Linked DNA regions of Homo sapiens: regions 1 and 3 are each linked to region 2. The links are contacts of gene promoters, found by promoter capture Hi-C in human tissues and cell types (Jung and others, 2019). All regions are on one chromosome and are shown on one strand. Each heading gives the region's core, a stretch centred on a gene start or on the middle of the fragment in contact. The rest is flanking DNA. Distances are from core to core; before and after follow the strand shown.

Region 1 (2,700 bases), core at 52-2,551, 220 kb after region 2:
GCCTTTCTACCCACATGCTTGGTTCAGTTCCTGCCTGTCAATGTCACAGACTGACAGGGTGTGCATTAAAGACAGCCCATGTGTGGGTCCCACTGGGGAGTGAGAGGAAAAGGTAACCGTGGATTGGTCTCAGATGTAAGCGTCTAAGTAGGGACAGATCAAGGACCAGAGAGTGGTTACAAAGAAAACAAACACCAACTTCCAGCTCCTGGCCAGAGGGCCTTTTAATTTTAAACCCTATCTGCCCATTCAGGAGCTATCTCACAGTTTTGTTTTGTTTTTTTTTTTTTTGTTTTTTTTTTTTTTTTTGAGATGGAGTCTCGCCCTGTCGCCCCGGCTGGAGTGCAGTGGTGTGATCTTGGCTCACTGCAACCTCTGCCTCCTGGGTTCAAGCAATTCTCCTGCCTCAGCCTACAGAGTAGTTGGGACTACAGGCGTGCACTACCACACCCGGCTAACTTTTGTATTTTTAGTAGAGACGGGGTTTCACCAGGTTAACCAGGCTGGTCTCGAACTCCTGACCTCAGGTAATCCACCCACCTCAGCCTCCCAGAGTGCTGGGATTACAGGCGTGAGCCACAGCGCCCGGCCCTGTCTTACAGTTTCTGCACTTAGTGAGGTTAACTCTAAAATCCTAAAGCGGGGTCATTCACACTGTGACCGAAAACAGGGCTTGTTAATGGTGAGCTAGAGGATTCCAAAATCTAGTTCACTCACTTCAACGTGACAAATTACAAAGACAAATTTTAAAACTGCTGTGTATGAAAAGTAACAGCAAACTATGCCAAAGGCCCAGGTTTTCAATTTCATTACTTAATAAATAAATATTAAAGTTAGCATTTGATTTCCACTGAATAGAGACGCTAGCCAAACAACAGAGAATCTTTCAAAATACTTTTAAAAACAGTATCTAGTTCCCCAAAAGAAATCCTCATTTTGAACTCAGGCTTTGCTCAGTGAACGCCTGTGACATCTCACAGGGCTGGCGTGAGATTAAATGATACCACAGCTGTGAAAGTATTCTGGAAAAGAGATACAACACCACATTCATATACATTAGAAAAAGGAAGCTTTTCAAGTTTTAATTTGGGTACCTATGAATTGTTTGTTGCTAATTTATCATCCCCAAATATTAGGTAAGAGGACCAGGCGTGGTGGCTCACAGTAACCTCAGCACGTTGGGAGGCCGAGGCAATCACTTGAGGTCAGGAGTTCGAGACAAGCCTGGCCAACATGGTGAAACCCTGTCTGTACTAAAAATACAAAAACAGAGTGAGGCTCCATCTAAAAAAAAAAAAAAATTAGGTAACAGATTCACTGGCAGAAATACAAAGTGACGCAGGCACAAGCTGTCACTGCAGGAAACGTCTAGTAGGAGAAGCTGCTTGAGGAAACTGTGATCTCCACGCAGTCAGGGGCTACGCACCGGCGAAGGAGAAGAGCTCCGTGGCTGGAAGGAGGTTTCCGATACCCACTGCCAAAGGAAAAGCACAAGGCACGAAACAACGCAGAGTATCTTCCTTTTATGTAAGAAATGGCGGGAGACTAAAACCCATATTCTGCTTGCTTATATTTGGAAAAGGAAACGTGGATACACCAGCAGCAGATAAAAATGACTTCTAGGGAGGGAGGGAATGGGGGATGGGACAGAGACAGGAGTAGCCCTCTCTGAGTATGTCTGACTTTGGAACCATGCTAACATCTTCCATAATTAAAAAAAAATTAAATAAAAAACCAACCCCTCAAAATTGAACCCAAATTAAAGCAAATGAACCCAATAGGACAATAAGGTTAGAGGCGGAACCTAGAATTCTGGCCTCCTCCTGTTTTTTATTTTGTTTGTTTTTTTGTTTTTTGCCAGAATGTGAAAGTACAGAGGAGCTGGCCCCTGACTCTGGCCACGCTTTGGCCCCCTTGCCCTGTGTGTAGCCTCGTGGCTGTGCCTGTGGACACCTCGTCTCCAAGCCTGGCACACAGCCACCCCTTGGTCACAGCAGTGAGACCCCAGGAAGAGCTGCACAGGGTCCTTGGCCGTGGAGCAGCCTCTACAACTGTAAGCTCAGGCTCCGCAGGGTGTGTCCTCGGCGTGTGCAGGGTTGCTGTCACAGGGGTGCCACGCCGGGCCCCTAAAGCACCAGCCCCCTTGCCTGGGTTCTTCCTTTATGTTTTCATTAGGTAAGATCTACATAATAGAAAATTCACCATTTTGACATGAACCATTCAATGGCATTTACTACCTTCAAAATGTTGTACGGCCACCACTTCTACAGCCTATCAGCCGCCACTCCCACTGCCCTGGCCCAGACCCTGACAACACGAATCTGCTTTCTGTCTCCATGGATTTGCCGGTTCTGGATCTCTCATTGGAGCGCATTCACACAGCATGCAGCCCTTTGTGTCTGGTTCTTTTACTTGGTGCGGCATTTCCGAGGCTCGCCCATGCTGTGGCACAGGCCAGTGCAACATTCCATTTTACGGCCAATATATATATATGTATATTACATGCCATTGTATGGATATGTGGTTTGTTTTTCCATTTGTCAGTTGATGAACACTTTGTTTCCAGTTTTTGGCCGTTGTGAACAGTGCTACAAACAGCTGTGTGGAAGTTTTTGCTTGAATATCTGTTTTCATTTCTTGAGTATACACCTAGGAGTGAAACTGTAGCATCCTATGGTAGTTCTTTTTTTATTTTAAAAT
Region 2 (2,700 bases), core at 1-2,500:
ACTATGTCCCAAAACCTGTTCCAGGTCTGAATGACACCAGGTCGCTGCTGTCTTGCGGCTGACATTCAGGTAGAGGTAAGGAGAGGGGCTCCAAGGGCACTTAAAGAATTTAAAATGCCATCTCAGGCGTGAACATAACTCCGAGGGGGGCAGTTTAGCCACGGTGGTGGCGGTGGTGGTCGTGGTGGTCGCAGAGACCCTGCTTAGGAGGGCACGGGAAGACAGCGCAGCCACGGGCAGAGCCGCCTCCGTCCACGCTTCCGGAGGACGTGGCGGGCAGGGGGCTCACACCCTGCTCAGGCGACCCTTGGCCACTTCCGGGCCCCTCGCCCCTCACCCTCGGCTGCCGGCGCGCATTCCTGCCGCCCCCGCTCGTGCGAGGGGCGGGCCCGGGCCCGTGGGAAGGGCCGGGGATGGGGGCCGTGTGCCGGGGAGGCGGGGTGGGGAGGGCGCACAGCTGGGCCGCATCTGGCCCGAGCGCAAGGAGACCAAATGGGACAGAAGGCGGCCTTTCATCCGGCGAGGGAAGTGGCGGCCTTCGTTTCTCCTCGCCATGGGGCGCCTGAGGATTTCGGGGAGCCAACCCTCCCGACGGAGGGCCAGGATCGAGGAAATCAGCCAGGGAGGAAGGAGTGGAATTTGGTTCTGGTGCTTTCTCGTTAGAACCTCGTGTCCCCACCTGCGGCACAGGTGGCCAAGCTCTTGCTCTGTACAAATAACGGCTCCCCTGAACCGAGCGCTCGGGAAGACCCAGGCGCCACCCCAGTTTGCAAGGCCTGCCGCGTCCCAAGGGGAGGAAGCCGTGCTCAGGAGGGGAAGCGCACAGCGAGGAAGTAGGATGTCCCCCGCGGTGCGTCGGAGCCCAGAGCCCGGGTCTCAGCACCCTGCCCGCTGCGCCGAGGGCGCGCCCCTCCCGTGCCGGGACGCCCGGTGCATCCCCGGACGGCGCTGGCCAGGCTGGGTTTCCTCTTCAGGGACACCGGCGCGGGCCGGGCCCGTCCCCAAGCCCCTCGGCGGCCCGCAGGGGCTACCCGGGGCGGGGGGGGTGCGGGGCGTGCACGTGCGCGCCGGGGGCGGGGCCGCTGCGCCCTCTGGGCAGTTCCCAGCCCCCAGCCGCGGCCCCACGTGGGTCTGCGGGCGTGGAGCGGCGACCGGCGCGAGGCCCCGCCCCCGAGCCCGGGAGCCAATGAGCGCACGGGGGCGGGACCGGGGCGGGGAGGTTTAAGAGCGCGGGACACTGGTGCTGCGCTGCTGGACTGCGCCGCCGGAGCGACGGGCTTCGGGTCGGTGCAAGGCAGGCGCACGGGGAAGGGCGCGCCGCGCGGCCGCCACCCCACCATGCTCAAGCGCTGCGGCCGGCGCCTGCTGCTGGCGCTGGCGGGCGCGCTGCTCGCCTGCCTGCTGGTGCTCACCGCCGACCCGCCGCCGCCTCCACTGCCCGCCGAGCGCGGCCGGCGCGCGCTGCGCAGCCTGGCGGGCCCCGCGGGGGCTGCCCCGGCGCCCGGGCTGGGGGCGGCGGCGGCGGCGCCCGGGGCGCTGGTCCGCGACGTGCACAGTCTGTCCGAGTACTTCAGCCTGCTCACCCGCGCGCGCAGAGATGCGGGCCCGCCGCCCGGGGCTGCCCCCCGCCCCGCCGACGGCCACCCGCGCCCCCTGGCCGAGCCGCTCGCGCCCCGAGACGTCTTCATCGCTGTCAAGACCACCAAAAAGTTCCACCGCGCGCGCCTCGACCTGCTGCTGGAGACCTGGATCTCGCGCCACAAGGAGATGGTGAGCCCCCCGCGGCCTGGACTGGCGGGCGAGCGGGGCGGGGACCCACCATCTGGTCCAGCTGGTGGCAGTGTCCCATGGGAGTCAGGCTGCATCCCCATCCAGCCACTAGGGCCATCTGTGGGCGACGCCAGTGCACCCCGGTGCACCCAGTTTGCCTGCTGGGGCCACTCTCCCGTTACAGTTGTGTTACTGTCCCCGGGGCCCCGCCTCCTGTCCAGCTCCAGAGTCCTGGATGGCTGCAGGACCCTACACCAGTCTCCAGTGCTTGGGGTTGGTGCCCTGTGATACTTCTCACCCCGTAAACATTGGAGCGCATTCATAGGGCATTATGTCCTCAAACTTCCACAAGCAAATTCTGTTCGGACCCACCCTCAGCTCAGACCCCTTCCTGGGGAGAAAGGCTCTTCCTTTAGAGAAGTGAGGGGTTCTGACCTCTGGGCCCTTTCCTCATCACAGTGTTAAGGTACGGGGAGGGAGGGAAGTCATTGCTGGTTGGTGGGTCCTGGGGAGTACATCTCAAAGAACTCCAGGTTTTGGGGTCTGTGTGGGGACCCTCCCCGCACAGTGCAGTAGTCTCTGAGGCCTGCAACCTTGGGCACAGCCCACTTCAGTTGGGCATCAGCTTCTTACACACACATAATTAAGACACACCCCACTTTGAACATTTCCCTCGAGGCCACAGCAGGACGGTTGGGCTGGGGCGGGATGGGGACAGTGTGTGGGGCTTGCAGTCGGGGACTGGGGGGGTGTCTCTGGGCTGGGAGATGCAGAGGCATTTGCTGTGAGGGTGGGGGCTCAGGGAAGACCCTGCACGCCTTCCTCCCTGCTCAAACCCCGGAGACCCAGGGCCTTCTGACCTGGCGCTGTCCTGTTTTGGGGCACTGTGGGTGGGTGGGAGCAGGGCTTGGTGAGGTCATGAGGGCGACG
Region 3 (2,700 bases), core at 48-2,547, 200 kb after region 2:
ACACTTTCTCACGTAGGAGCTCCACTGTCCCTTCTAACAGGACAGGGCTTGTGCAGCCGGGCTTGGTCTTGTGGTCAGGGAGAAGCGGGCAGGCCAGGGCCGAGCTGCGTCCGGCTCTCAGGGACTTCCTCTCCCTGTGCTCTGCCCACCTGGGGTAGGCCTCTGGGAACAGGGGAGTCACAGAAACCACGGGAAACGGAGTGGGTTGGAAGAGGCAGAGAACACGCTTTTCTCAGGGTCGCTTAACACAGGCAGGGGTACAGGAGAGCTCCGGCCATTTATTCCAAATGTATGAGCAGGAAGGAAAGAGGGAGGGAAGCTGCAAGAACAGGCGACTTTTTTTTTTTTTTTTCCCCCCCATCTGAAGTGAGATCAAACTTCTACCACATTCTACCTGTGCCCTTCTGGGTGGGTGGTGGCCGTCCTCTTGGGCGCCCCCTTGTGAGGGCTCGAGGCCTTTACTGGATGGGCAGGATGCGGGCAGCAGCTTTGTCGGCTGCCAACCCAACTCCTCCGACAGAACGGCAGGTGGCCCCTGTCGGAAGGGGGGTGTCTCTTTATTCCTGCCATCCTCCGGCCGCCTCTCCCGCCTGCACCACTTGGAGGCAGTTGTTTCACGTGGGGCTCTTGATGGCATAACCTGATGTCTGTCACGGACCCCCAAGCAGGAGCAATGCCTAAAGAGGGCAAAGGCCCGCGCGCCTGGCAGAGCTCCCTCCTCTGCTCCAACAGCAGAGCCCAGAGCATCCCTTGGCCCGACGCACAAGTCCCACAATAGCCTCTCCCAACGGGAACGACTTAGCCCTAATTACATGAGCTTTGATCACCGCTCGATTGTATGGCACAGTTATTTTTAAAAATCCAGTCCAAGTGGAAATACACCTGGAACATTTTATACTGCAATGACTGATGGACGACTTTGATATACAAAATAAATTGTTACTCAGCTTTTCTATAATGCTTACATCTTACATTTTCATTCTCAAAATTAATAAATGCTATCAACCCCAATTTTTTTTTTTTTTGAGATGGAGTTTCGCTCTTGTTGCCCAGCCTGGAGTGCAATGGTGTGATCTTGGCTCACTGCAACCTCTGCCTTCCAGTTTCAAGCGATTCTCCTGCCTCAGCCTCCCACGTAGATGGGATTACAGGTGCCTGCCACACCATGCCCGGCTAATTTTTGTATTTTTAGTAGAAATGGGGTTTCATCACCTTGGCCAGGCTGGTCTCAAACTCCTGACCTCGTGATCCACCCGCCTTGGCCTCCCAAAGTGCCAGGATTACAGGCGTCAGCCACCGTGCCCAGCCTCAACTCCAAATTTTAAAAAGGGCTTAAACGAAGAGGATGAAATTCTGGAAGGCTAAATGAAAAGAGAATGTGTCTGTTGAATTCGATAAGCAATTCCTTGCATTTGAGAAGGCAAGGAGCCGACGGGAACCTACCGACAGGGCTGCCACGCACTGCTGCAGAGCTTTCCGTGCAAAGCGCGGCTCCCCTCTGAGACTCGGCTCCTCTGCTGACATGGACCGGTTCATCTACCCACGCGGACGCCCATCCACAAACACTTAGTCACTGCTGGAGGCTTTTAAAACACCTGTCAAATGAAGAGTCACTTCACAAATGTTCACTCCCCGTTTCCATGTCTCCCCACGTCAGGGTGAACACTTTTTATGCGCTGTGACAAAAAGAGAAAGACTAGTGTGTGTTTTGGGGGCTGGAGGGGATCATTATTTTTTTGAATTTTTATTTATTGAGACAGAGTCTGTGTTGCCCAGGCTGGAGTCCAGTGGTGCGATCTTGGCTCACTGCAACCTCCGCCTTCTGGGTTCAAACGATTCTCCTGTCTCAGCCTCCCAAGTAGCTGGGACTACAGGCGCCTGCCACCAAGCCTGGCTAATTTTTGTATTTTTTAGTAGAGACGGGGTTTTACCGTGCTGGCCAGGCTGGTCTTGAACTCCTGACCTCAAGTGAAACACCGAAGTCTCCCAAAATGCTGGGATTATAGGTGTGAGCCACTGCGCCCAGCCTTTAAAAAAAAAAAATTATTTTAGATACAGGGGTCTTGCTATGTTGCCCAGGCTTATCTCAAATGCCTGGGCTCAAGCGACTCTCCTGCCTCAGCCTCCTAAGTAGCTGGACTACAGGTGTGTATCTCTACACTGAGCTAACTAAAAACTTGTTTTTGGTAGAGACAGGGTTTCAGCCACGTTGCCCAGGCTGGTTTTGAACTCCTGGGCTCAGGCAATCCTACTGCCTCGGGCTCACGAAGTGCCTGGATTACAGGTGTGAGTCACCACGCCCAGCCCGTTATTTCTGTTTATACGAATGTCACAGCATGTTTCCTGTGTGACCCTGCGGGCTGTCATCGCTGGCTGCCTGCCTTACGCCCACAGGTCTGGTGGTGGCGACCAGCAGCTGCAAAACGACCGACTCTATTGAAGACACACTGGGTGGCGCGGGAGGTTCCTGCCAATGCCGGGAGGAAGAGCAACCCAGGACGCCTGTGCCTGGGAGGGATGGAAAGGCCAGGGGAGGGTGGAGCTCAGGAGTGGAAGCACAGGGACTAAGGCCTGAGCCGGGCCCTGTGCTGAGCGCTCACCTCACTCTCCTGCCGCGCACCGCAGATGTGTGGAAGATGTGAGGAGGCCTCTGCTTCGGGAAAGGTGCTTGCCCCACGGTGGAACGCACTCTGGAAGCCC

Evidence for each region. Contacts are between HindIII fragments. The study calls those that stand out against the background at their distance.
Region 1: a fragment that was not itself captured here is called in contact with the fragment with the promoter of LFNG in region 2 in 1 of the 25 tissues and cell types used here (dorsolateral prefrontal cortex).
Region 3: a contact is called between a fragment that was not itself captured here and the fragment with the promoter of LFNG in region 2, in 2 of the 25 tissues and cell types used here (IMR-90 fibroblasts and spleen).

Annotation. Positions count from the first base shown.
Region 1 is chr7:2,736,998-2,739,697 of GRCh38, forward strand. The region is part of intron 2 of GNA12 (G protein subunit alpha 12); the gene reads right to left. It also overlaps a transcript of AMZ1 not described here. Among named protein-coding and RNA genes, the nearest start is that of AMZ1, 50 kb to the left of the region's middle. The HindIII fragment of the contact is 6,430 bases long and covers 1-2,700 here.
Region 2 is chr7:2,518,524-2,521,223 of GRCh38, forward strand. It overlaps LFNG (LFNG O-fucosylpeptide 3-beta-N-acetylglucosaminyltransferase), which reads left to right and starts at 1,251. Exons shown (of 8, transcript NM_001040167.2): 1 at 1,251-1,770. The coding sequence starts at 1,339. RefSeq lists silencers at 777-1,306, 1,317-1,426. The HindIII fragment of the contact is 23,923 bases long and covers 1-2,700 here.
Region 3 is chr7:2,718,673-2,721,372 of GRCh38, forward strand. AMZ1 (archaelysin family metallopeptidase 1) reads left to right here. Exons shown (of 7, transcript NM_001384743.1): 7 at 1-1,011. Among named protein-coding and RNA genes, the nearest start is that of AMZ1, 32 kb to the left of the region's middle. The HindIII fragment of the contact is 7,405 bases long and covers 1-2,700 here.